Regions from separate parts of the Homo sapiens genome. Here all the other regions are linked to region 3. Evidence: promoter capture Hi-C in 16 types of primary human blood cells and fetal thymus (Javierre and others, 2016). All regions are on one chromosome and are shown on one strand. Each heading gives the region's core, a stretch centred on a gene start or on the middle of the fragment in contact. The rest is flanking DNA. Distances are from core to core; before and after follow the strand shown.

The links. Contacts are between HindIII fragments. The CHiCAGO score rates a contact against its expected background, and 5 or more counts as called.
Region 1: a contact is called between the fragment with the promoter of BTN2A1 here and the fragment with the promoter of H2BC17 in region 3, in 1 of 17 cell types (neutrophils). The highest score is 5.3, in neutrophils.
Region 2: a contact is called between the fragment with the promoter of ZNF322 here and the fragment with the promoter of H2BC17 in region 3, in 2 of 17 cell types (neutrophils and monocytes). The highest score is 8.0, in neutrophils.

What each region holds. Positions count from the first base shown.
Region 1 is chr6:26,456,575-26,459,274 of GRCh38, forward strand. BTN2A1 (butyrophilin subfamily 2 member A1) reads left to right here and starts at 1,381. Exons shown (of 8, transcript NM_007049.5): 1 at 1,381-1,568; 2 at 2,033-2,144. The coding sequence starts at 2,063. RefSeq lists enhancers at 992-1,251, 1,412-1,571. The HindIII fragment of the contact is 11,033 bases long and covers 1-2,700 here.
Region 2 is chr6:26,658,449-26,661,148 of GRCh38, forward strand. It overlaps ZNF322 (zinc finger protein 322), which reads right to left and starts at 1,298. Exons shown (of 4, transcript NM_024639.5): 1 at 993-1,298; 2 at 110-198. RefSeq lists enhancers at 728-1,228, 949-998, 1,009-1,198, 1,229-1,729, 1,429-1,488 and 1 more. The HindIII fragment of the contact is 5,113 bases long and covers 1-2,700 here.
Region 3 is chr6:27,892,009-27,894,708 of GRCh38, forward strand. H2BC17 (H2B clustered histone 17) reads left to right here and starts at 1,417. Exons shown (of 1, transcript NM_003527.4): 1 at 1,417-1,883. The coding sequence starts at 1,455. The coding sequence ends at 1,835. H2AC17 (H2A clustered histone 17) reads right to left here and starts at 1,177. Exons shown (of 1, transcript NM_003514.2): 1 at 691-1,177. The coding sequence starts at 1,141. The coding sequence ends at 749. RefSeq lists enhancers at 303-846, 451-500, 847-1,390, 1,411-1,650, 2,041-2,180. The HindIII fragment of the contact is 3,889 bases long and covers 1,249-2,700 here.

The sequences.
Region 1 (2,700 bases), core at 131-2,630, 1.4 Mb before region 3:
ACTCTGGTGCCAAATGACTCCAGGAACTGGGCCATGATGTGGTGGGAATGACCTTACCCTGAGCATGTCACTCATGCATTGAACAACAGCTAAGAGCAGAGCTTAGAGCTTAGAGCTGGGCCCTGTAAGGTGAGAGGAATCACATCCTGCAGAAGTCTGTCCTGAGAAGCAGGTACTCCTGTCACAGCAGAGACACAGTGGATACCTGAGTAACAATAATACAAGACAGGACGTGGGAACAGCAAAAGATTTGGGTGTCAGAAGAGGCCGAGAACACTTCAGGCAGGAACATTCAGAGTTGTTCTTGGAGGAAGTAGGCACGAAGGCTGGGCAGGATTTCACGGGGCAGAGATGGAGCAAGCAATTGAAATGAAAGCCATGGCATGGGAAAAGGAGCACTGGCCACAGGGAGTGCAACGTTGTGATGCAAGGCCACTGTGGAGCCATTGCTAGCGTATTAACTGCAAAGTTTTGAATTGAATCAGAAGGGAATTGGAGGCCTCCAGACTAAGCATTTAGACACTTGAGGGGAATATTGACAACTGGGCCTCGGGAAGATTATTCTGGAAGATATCTTTACAATTACAAGATTGGAGCCTTTGGGAGAGGGATGATGTTTACGGGAGGATGGTATGTGTGCTAGTGTGTGTGTCTGTGTGTGGCTCTTGGACCCAACCTGACCACCTACTATCTAGAAGGTGAAGGACAACTAGAAAGTTTTGCTCAATTCCATCTTCTGCCACCACCAGAATGCCACCTCCCTGAGGGAAAAGGTTTTTGATCCTCAGTCAGGATTCTCAGCACCTCTTATCCGATAGCTTTGGAATGAATGGCAAGGCCTTCATAACAGCCACTGCAACTGCTGTCTCCTTTCCTTTGCTACCCCTCCCGCTCCAGCCATGCCAGCTTCCCCCAAGCCCTCCTGCGCTCCAGGCCCAACCTCCAAAGCCAGCAACTTGAACAGGAGTCCTCTGGCTTTGGAAAGGGGGCGGCTTACGTTTTCCTGCTCATGTTTCCTCCCCAGCAAAATTGCCCTCTACATAGAGAGGCCTCTCCTTGTGGACACCAGCAAAGCCACCGACCTCAGTGACAAACCCCAGGGAATCTCCCCAAGGAATCTCAAAGCGAGAGAGAGAGAGAGAGTCTTGAGAGAGAAAGAGAGAGAGAGAGAGTCTTGCTTTCGAACAAAGAAAAAGGAAATAAAAAGACCCGATAATCTCAAAAGGTTATTTGCTGCTTGAAATTTGTGATTCGGTGTATTCTACCCAGCAACTGCTGAGAAATAAGGTTCGACACCATTGGCTGGTTCACTCACACCCGGCCAATCCTGGGCTCTAAAATACTTAGGGAACTCTTGGGACTGTGGAAGCCCAGGAGACCAGATTTCGTTTCCTGCATCTCCAAACATGGCGACCTAGGAGAAGGGGAAGAACAATTTTTTCTCCTCTTTTGGGAAGGTTTGTGTCTAGTAGTGCCTGTGCCCCTGGGCAGATTGGAGAGAAGAGGGACGACTGGAGAATCGTCGAGAACCAGCGGAGAAAAGAAAAAGCAACGTTTAATTCTAGAAGGTAGGAAACGGAGGGGAGGCGCTACAGCTCCGGGGTGGGCACAGTAGGTGGGGGAAGCGGGGTCTGCTGTGGACACGAGACGGGGTCCTGGGACAGGGAAAGCCCACCGGTGGGGAGGCGCGGCCTCGCCTGTCTTTGCCTCAGGCTGCCCGGCCTGGGTCGCGGGGAGGAGGAAGTGAAGGGAGGAGGGTGTGGTAGAATCCAGCGACAACTGAAGAAACTGCATTCTGGCCAGAGAAGTGAGCCGAGGAGGGCGGAAAAAGGCCCCCTTGATCTTGGCATTGATGGCTTACTTCATGGAATGTTTAAGGAATCCCTCTCTCGGGACATACCTGAGCCTTCGGATGCAGGGGACTCCCTGAAGTTGGGGCACTGATGAGACCTACTTGAGTGACGGGAGAGGTTGGGCCCGACCAGCACTGAGGTGCCAAGACTCCTAGGCTGATTCTCCTCTGTAACCCTAGGCCTCCTGTCCCTGCCTGCTCTGGGTGCTCATGGAATCAGCTGCTGCCCTGCACTTCTCCCGGCCAGCCTCCCTCCTCCTCCTCCTCCTCAGCCTGTGTGCACTGGTCTCAGGTAGGGATGTGTGCCACTTGCTGCTGTCACCTATCAGAAAGGAACATCAACCCTGTAGTCTGCAAAGGGAAAGAAAGAAGGACTGTGGAGTTGTTGACTTACCCTTTCATTCTGAACATGTTCATTGAATTTATACCAGCACTGTCCAAAAGGAATACAGTGAGGCACAAAGGCCGAGTGCATGTACAATTGCAAATTTTCAAAAAAAATTAAATTTTACTTTTTATTTTAAAAAGTAAAAAGAAACATGAAATAAATTTGTATACTATATTTTGTTTCGCCCCAAATAATCAAATACGAATATTTAAATACTTAGTTAATATACCATATTACCAATGAGATAGTCAACATTTTGAAATTTTAAATCTTCATAATCCTGTGTGTATTTTACACTTACAGCTCATTTCAGTTGGAACTAGCTAGTGGATATGTGTCCTATTGCACGGCTCAAGTTTACAGTACACTCAGGCACAGCACTAGATTGGGAAATCGAGGAAAATCCCCTCAAGGGCACAGGGTGGACAGAGGGTGCTCAGGGCAGGTTCCTCAGGGTTTC
Region 2 (2,700 bases), core at 48-2,547, 1.2 Mb before region 3:
CATTCTCTTTTTCCATATATCTTCTCCCATACTTTCCTGTCTTTCACCCTGCCCCACCCCACACCCCCATCCACATTTATACAGAAACAGAGCCTGGTATACCACTTACCGTAACAAGAAAGACTCAAGACCATCTTCCTTTTGGTTTCAAAAGGTCTCTAGTTCAGAACTATTCACAACACTCAATTCTTGCCTCTCCTAGAGGAAAAATCAATAATGTAGACGATGACCTTGTGAAATTTATAATTCATAATTTTTCTAGAGCTGGCCTAGAAAACTGGTCCCATTTCCTCTCCATTCTAGTGAGCATCCTTCAACCATAGCTTACCTCTTCCCATCTTTGCTTACACTGTTTCTCCTGCAGGAAGTACCTGCCACTGGTAGCCATCAGTTCCGACCAGCTCTAGACAAAATGTCAAGAATCTTTCTATTACTAACTGTAACTTCATAACAAAGCCCTAAGCCTCGTTTTTCGTTTGTTTTTTCTCCTTCTGCTAATTGTTTTTGTTTGTATTATCTCAACTCCTAAGATCAAAGACCCATTCGTCTACCACTACAAACCCCAAAGTGCATGTGATAAGTGTATATAATATAAAGTTATCTGTAATTCCATTTTCCAAAAAGAAATGGTTATAGGAAGATTAAACAAACCAGATTTTTCTGCAGATAGATTCAACTGCAACATAACTAATTTCTGCACTGAAGATGAAGCGAAAAATCCATTCAAGGTCCTTTTTTTCCTCGATATATATGAAAGATTATATTGCTTTGAAAAGTGCCTTGCAGTGTTTACTATCTCTAGGAACTACCGTACTAAGGTTCTCTTCTTTCAACTTTTCATTGACCATCTTTCAGTCCTCCGTCCGCCGTCAGCGGAGACCAGACCATGCTCAGTGTCCAGGAACAGGGGCTGCTCCCACTCGACTGTGGCCGTGGGTCTTGGGTCCCACCGCGCACCCATCCCACCCCTGGGCCCCGCAGGCCGCGCTTACCCTGGCAGCCGCCGGCGCCGCCCCTAGGCCTGGGGACAGCACTTCCGGTTACTCTCCGGACACTCGAATCTGGGCTTCCTGGCGGCCGCAGACTCTGCGATAGTAGATCTAAGGGCCAGGCTTCGGGAAGGAAAGAAAAGCGAACCCGGCACGGACAAGACCTAGGAGCAACTCCCTTCGTGCGCCTAGACTAGAGGAGTTGGGGCCAGGCCGCCCACAGAGCGCTTTAACAGAGCGCTTCAAGGGCCCACAAGGCCGGCTACGCAAACCCTTTCAAGCTGGCTGGGAAGAGGCCGGCGCAGCCCCACCCCCGCAAGTCACATGATCACCCCTCTCCGGCCACTAGGGCGTTCCAACCCCGGCCCCTGGGCCAATAGGAGCCGAGTCTTCGGAAAGGGGCGGGGCCCGGGGCGCCTGCGCTCTGGGAGCCCTCGGCGTTTTGGTGGGAGGGGGTCTTGCTGGCGCAGTGGAAGGCCGGCTGCGGGGGGAGGCGATCGCTGCCACCCTGTCTAAGAAGAAACGGCACCAACAGCGTTGCAGTTTATGTTACAGTTTCCCCAAGGCTGTTAACCGAGGACTCAAACCAGGAGTAGAGTCACAAAGATTAGATGCCACTGACCCTGAGAGAAACACCAGGAAAGATCTGGGAGAGATAGAGGATTCTGAAGCACAGTGGCAGCGCTGTCATCCACGAAGATGTGGCCAGCGAGATGGAAGAAATGCTTTTAAAAGTGGTGGACTTGTGTGGGTGGAGAAAACAGCAGCGAGAGAAAGTACTGTGGGAGGTTCCCCAGTCCTTGCTGATTATGTTTCTGATTTGGAATCAGCTAAGAGTAAATCACCTAGTGGTGGGGCTGGAACAGAACTCAGTTCTTTAGGTTGAACACTGGGTATTCTCCCAGCTCAATTGTTAAATTAAAAAAAACAAACCAACAAAAAACAGTTTTTAAATGTCCTCAGCTATCAAAGGGAAAAGATGAGTAGTAGGAATATGGAAAACTAAACCCTGGGCAGCCTGGCCAAGGACTTGGATTGTGAGCCAGTTGCTGAGGTTTAGTAATTGGGGAGCGCAGTCTCTGAGACACGTATTCAGTATTAACTAATCATGTTCCTACTAGTGGAATTCTTCCGCAGAGGGTCTACAGCTTATTCTACTTTCATGTTTATTTTTAATGAAACTTTCAAGGTCAAAATATTCCACTCAGGGTTGTCTTAATATTTTGAATAATAACATTTTGAGTGTGTAGCATGTATCAAACACTGTTCTAATAACTTTACACTATTGTCTCATTCAGTTGTAACAAAAATCGTGTGAGATATGTATTCTTTTAGGAGGAAACTGGTGCACAGAGAGATTAAGTAGCTTGCCCAGGATCACATATTACTGATGAAGCTGTAATGTGAACAGTCTGATGCCAGATTCTGTGCTTGCAGTCACTATACTTATGGCTACCTCAATAGTGGTGAGTGTATTGTGTAAAATTATTGGAATAAAAATTAAGCAAGTTGGATTCTGATCTCTGCACTGCATATAACAAGGTCTGAATATGTGTAGAATTGAACTGTTCAACCTTTTCTTTCAGGATACATTGGCCCAAAGTACTCTTTATTAATTGTTTTATTCAGTTAAACATTTATTGAGCACCTCCAATTAACAGGACACCATAGGCCGGGCACGGTGGCTCACGCCTGTAATGCCAGCACTTTG
Region 3 (2,700 bases), core at 167-2,666:
CAAGTGTTCCTTCTGCTGTCAGTCCGCCAAATACAGGCGAGGGCCTCGCGCCTGGTATTTTTTTTCTTTCTTTTTTTTAGATGGAGTCTCGCTCTGTCGCCCAGGCTGGAGTGCAGTGGCGTGATCTCGGCTCACTGCAACCTCTGCCTCCTGGGTTCAAGCGATTCTCCTGCCTGTCTCCTTAGTAGCGCTCGCCACCACGCCCGGCTAATTTTTGTGTTTTTAGTAGGGACAGGGTTTCACCATGTTTGCCTGGGTGGTCTCGATCTCTTGACCTTGTGATACACCCTCCTCGGCCTCCCAAAGTGCTGGGATTACAGGCGTGAGCCACCGCGCCCAGTCATTTTTTTTTTAAGAGGCAGGGGTCTCGTTATCAGGGTGGTCTCGAACTCCAGGTCCCTAGAGATTTCTCCCCTCCCCACCCACCTGCCTCAGTTTCCCAAAATGCTAAGGACGCATAAACCACCGCGCCCGGCCCCAAGTTTTTTAAAGACCCAGGACAGTTTGTGGGGAGGGGACAATTAAGGAGGTTCCTTCATGTTATAAGGTAGCAGTTGGATAGTATTTACTAGGCCTGATTCAATACTTTTATTTTACCCAATAGGAAAGTAATGGCCTCAGTGCTTGAACTCGGCCACAAATTTCTGATAGGTTTGGAGAACAGAGTGCTCAGTTCTTCCGTAGAAATGGTGGGTGGCTCTGAAAAGAGCCTTTTGTCTTGTAAGTTTACATTTTTAAAGTTCAGCCCTTACTTGCCCTTAGCTTTGTGGTGGCTCTCAGTCTTCTTGGGGAGCAGTACGGCCTGGATGTTAGGCAGAACACCGCCCTGAGCGATGGTAACTTTACCAAGCAGCTTGTTGAGCTCCTCGTCGTTGCGGATGGCCAGCTGCAAGTGGCGCGGGATGATGCGGGTCTTTTTGTTGTCGCGGGCTGCGTTGCCCGCCAGCTCCAGGATCTCGGCAGTTAGGTACTCCAGCACCGCCGCCAGGTAAACCGGCGCGCCGGCCCCGACCCGCTCAGCGTAGTTGCCCTTGCGGAGCAGGCGGTGCACTCGTCCTACAGGAAATTGGAGCCCAGCTCTAGAGGAGCGGGTTTTGGCCTTGGCGCGAGCCTTGCCGCCCTGCTTGCCACGTCCAGACATGGTAAAACGACCTGTGGCCTAAGTCAGAAAGTGAGTGAAAGGAACCTACAGGGACGCGCATTTTATAGCAGCTGCTGGGCGCGAAAAAGAAGCTGGGCCATTGGCTAAGCTTGCAGCTTCCTCTTAATGCAAATGAGCTTTCTGAATATACGTGTTTTGATTGGACTATATTGATATTAACGTCATCTGAGTAACTTCCAATCAGACAGAAGAATTTCTCAATCTCATCTGCATATAGACTTGTAAATAAATAGGGCATAACCCAGCTTGTCCTCATTCTTGTTATTTGAGTGCTCTTTCACTCTCCTCCGCCATGCCCGACCCGGCTAAATCTGCTCCTGCCCCCAAAAAGGGCTCCAAGAAAGCCGTAACCAAGGCCCAGAAAAAGGACGGCAAGAAGCGCAAGCGCAGCCGCAAAGAGAGTTACTCTATCTACGTGTACAAGGTGCTGAAGCAAGTCCACCCCGACACCGGCATCTCATCGAAGGCCATGGGCATCATGAACTCCTTCGTCAATGACATCTTTGAGCGCATCGCTGGCGAGGCTTCCCGCCTGGCGCATTACAACAAGCGCTCGACCATCACCTCCAGGGAGATCCAGACGGCCGTGCGCCTGCTGCTGCCCGGGGAGCTGGCCAAGCACGCCGTGTCCGAGGGCACAAAGGCCGTCACCAAGTACACCAGCTCCAAGTGAGCTCTCGCAGCTGCCAGCAATCCAAAGGCTCTTTTCAGAGCCACTCACGCTTCCAGAGAAAGAGCCTGTGCATTTTGCTTGTAGTCTTTTGGGTGGACTCCGGCCGGCCTCCATTAGGAGGGAAGACGGCGGGAAAAGGTAAGCTAAGCTCCCTAGGCTTTTTGCGTGTGAGTATAGACGCTCCATCAGACAAATTTAGCTTGGGTTCTTAGATACCCTTGGGGAAAAAGGCTTGCAGTTGTGCTTTAAGCTATAATTACAAGTTTGCTTTCGGTTTTCGGTTACTCTTTCCTTTTGTGTTGTTTTTTTTTTTTTTTTTTAAATGGAGTCTTGGCTCTGTCGCCCAGGATAGAGTGCAGTGCCGCGATCTCGGCTCACTGTAAGCTCCGTCTCCCGGGTTCAACCAATTCTGCTTCGGCCTCCTAAGTAGCTGGGATTACAGGCGCCCGCCACCGTGCCCGACTAATTATTGCATTTTTAGTAGAGACGGAGTTTTACCGTCTTGACCAGGCTAGTCTCGAACTCCTGACTTCGTGATCCACCCATCTCGGCCTCCCAAAATGTTGGGATATCAGGCGTGAGCCATCGCGCGCGGCCGGGTTATTCTTTCAGTGCCTGTAACGTCCCCCTTCTTTGATTGGTCAACGCTCTATTTGAAAAGCCCGCCAAGGGCTGCAATTTGCCAGATAGTCTCATCCGGGTTGTTTTTCGAAGAGGTTCTCCCGGAATGGAAATGACCGTTATCTGCAGGAGTGCATCGGACTCTGGCGCCAAGAGCTGGAAGCTGTGAATTAACCGTCCCTCTTACTGCAGTTGTACGGATCCTGGGTGACATTGACTTACCGGTGTCCATTTTCCATACACT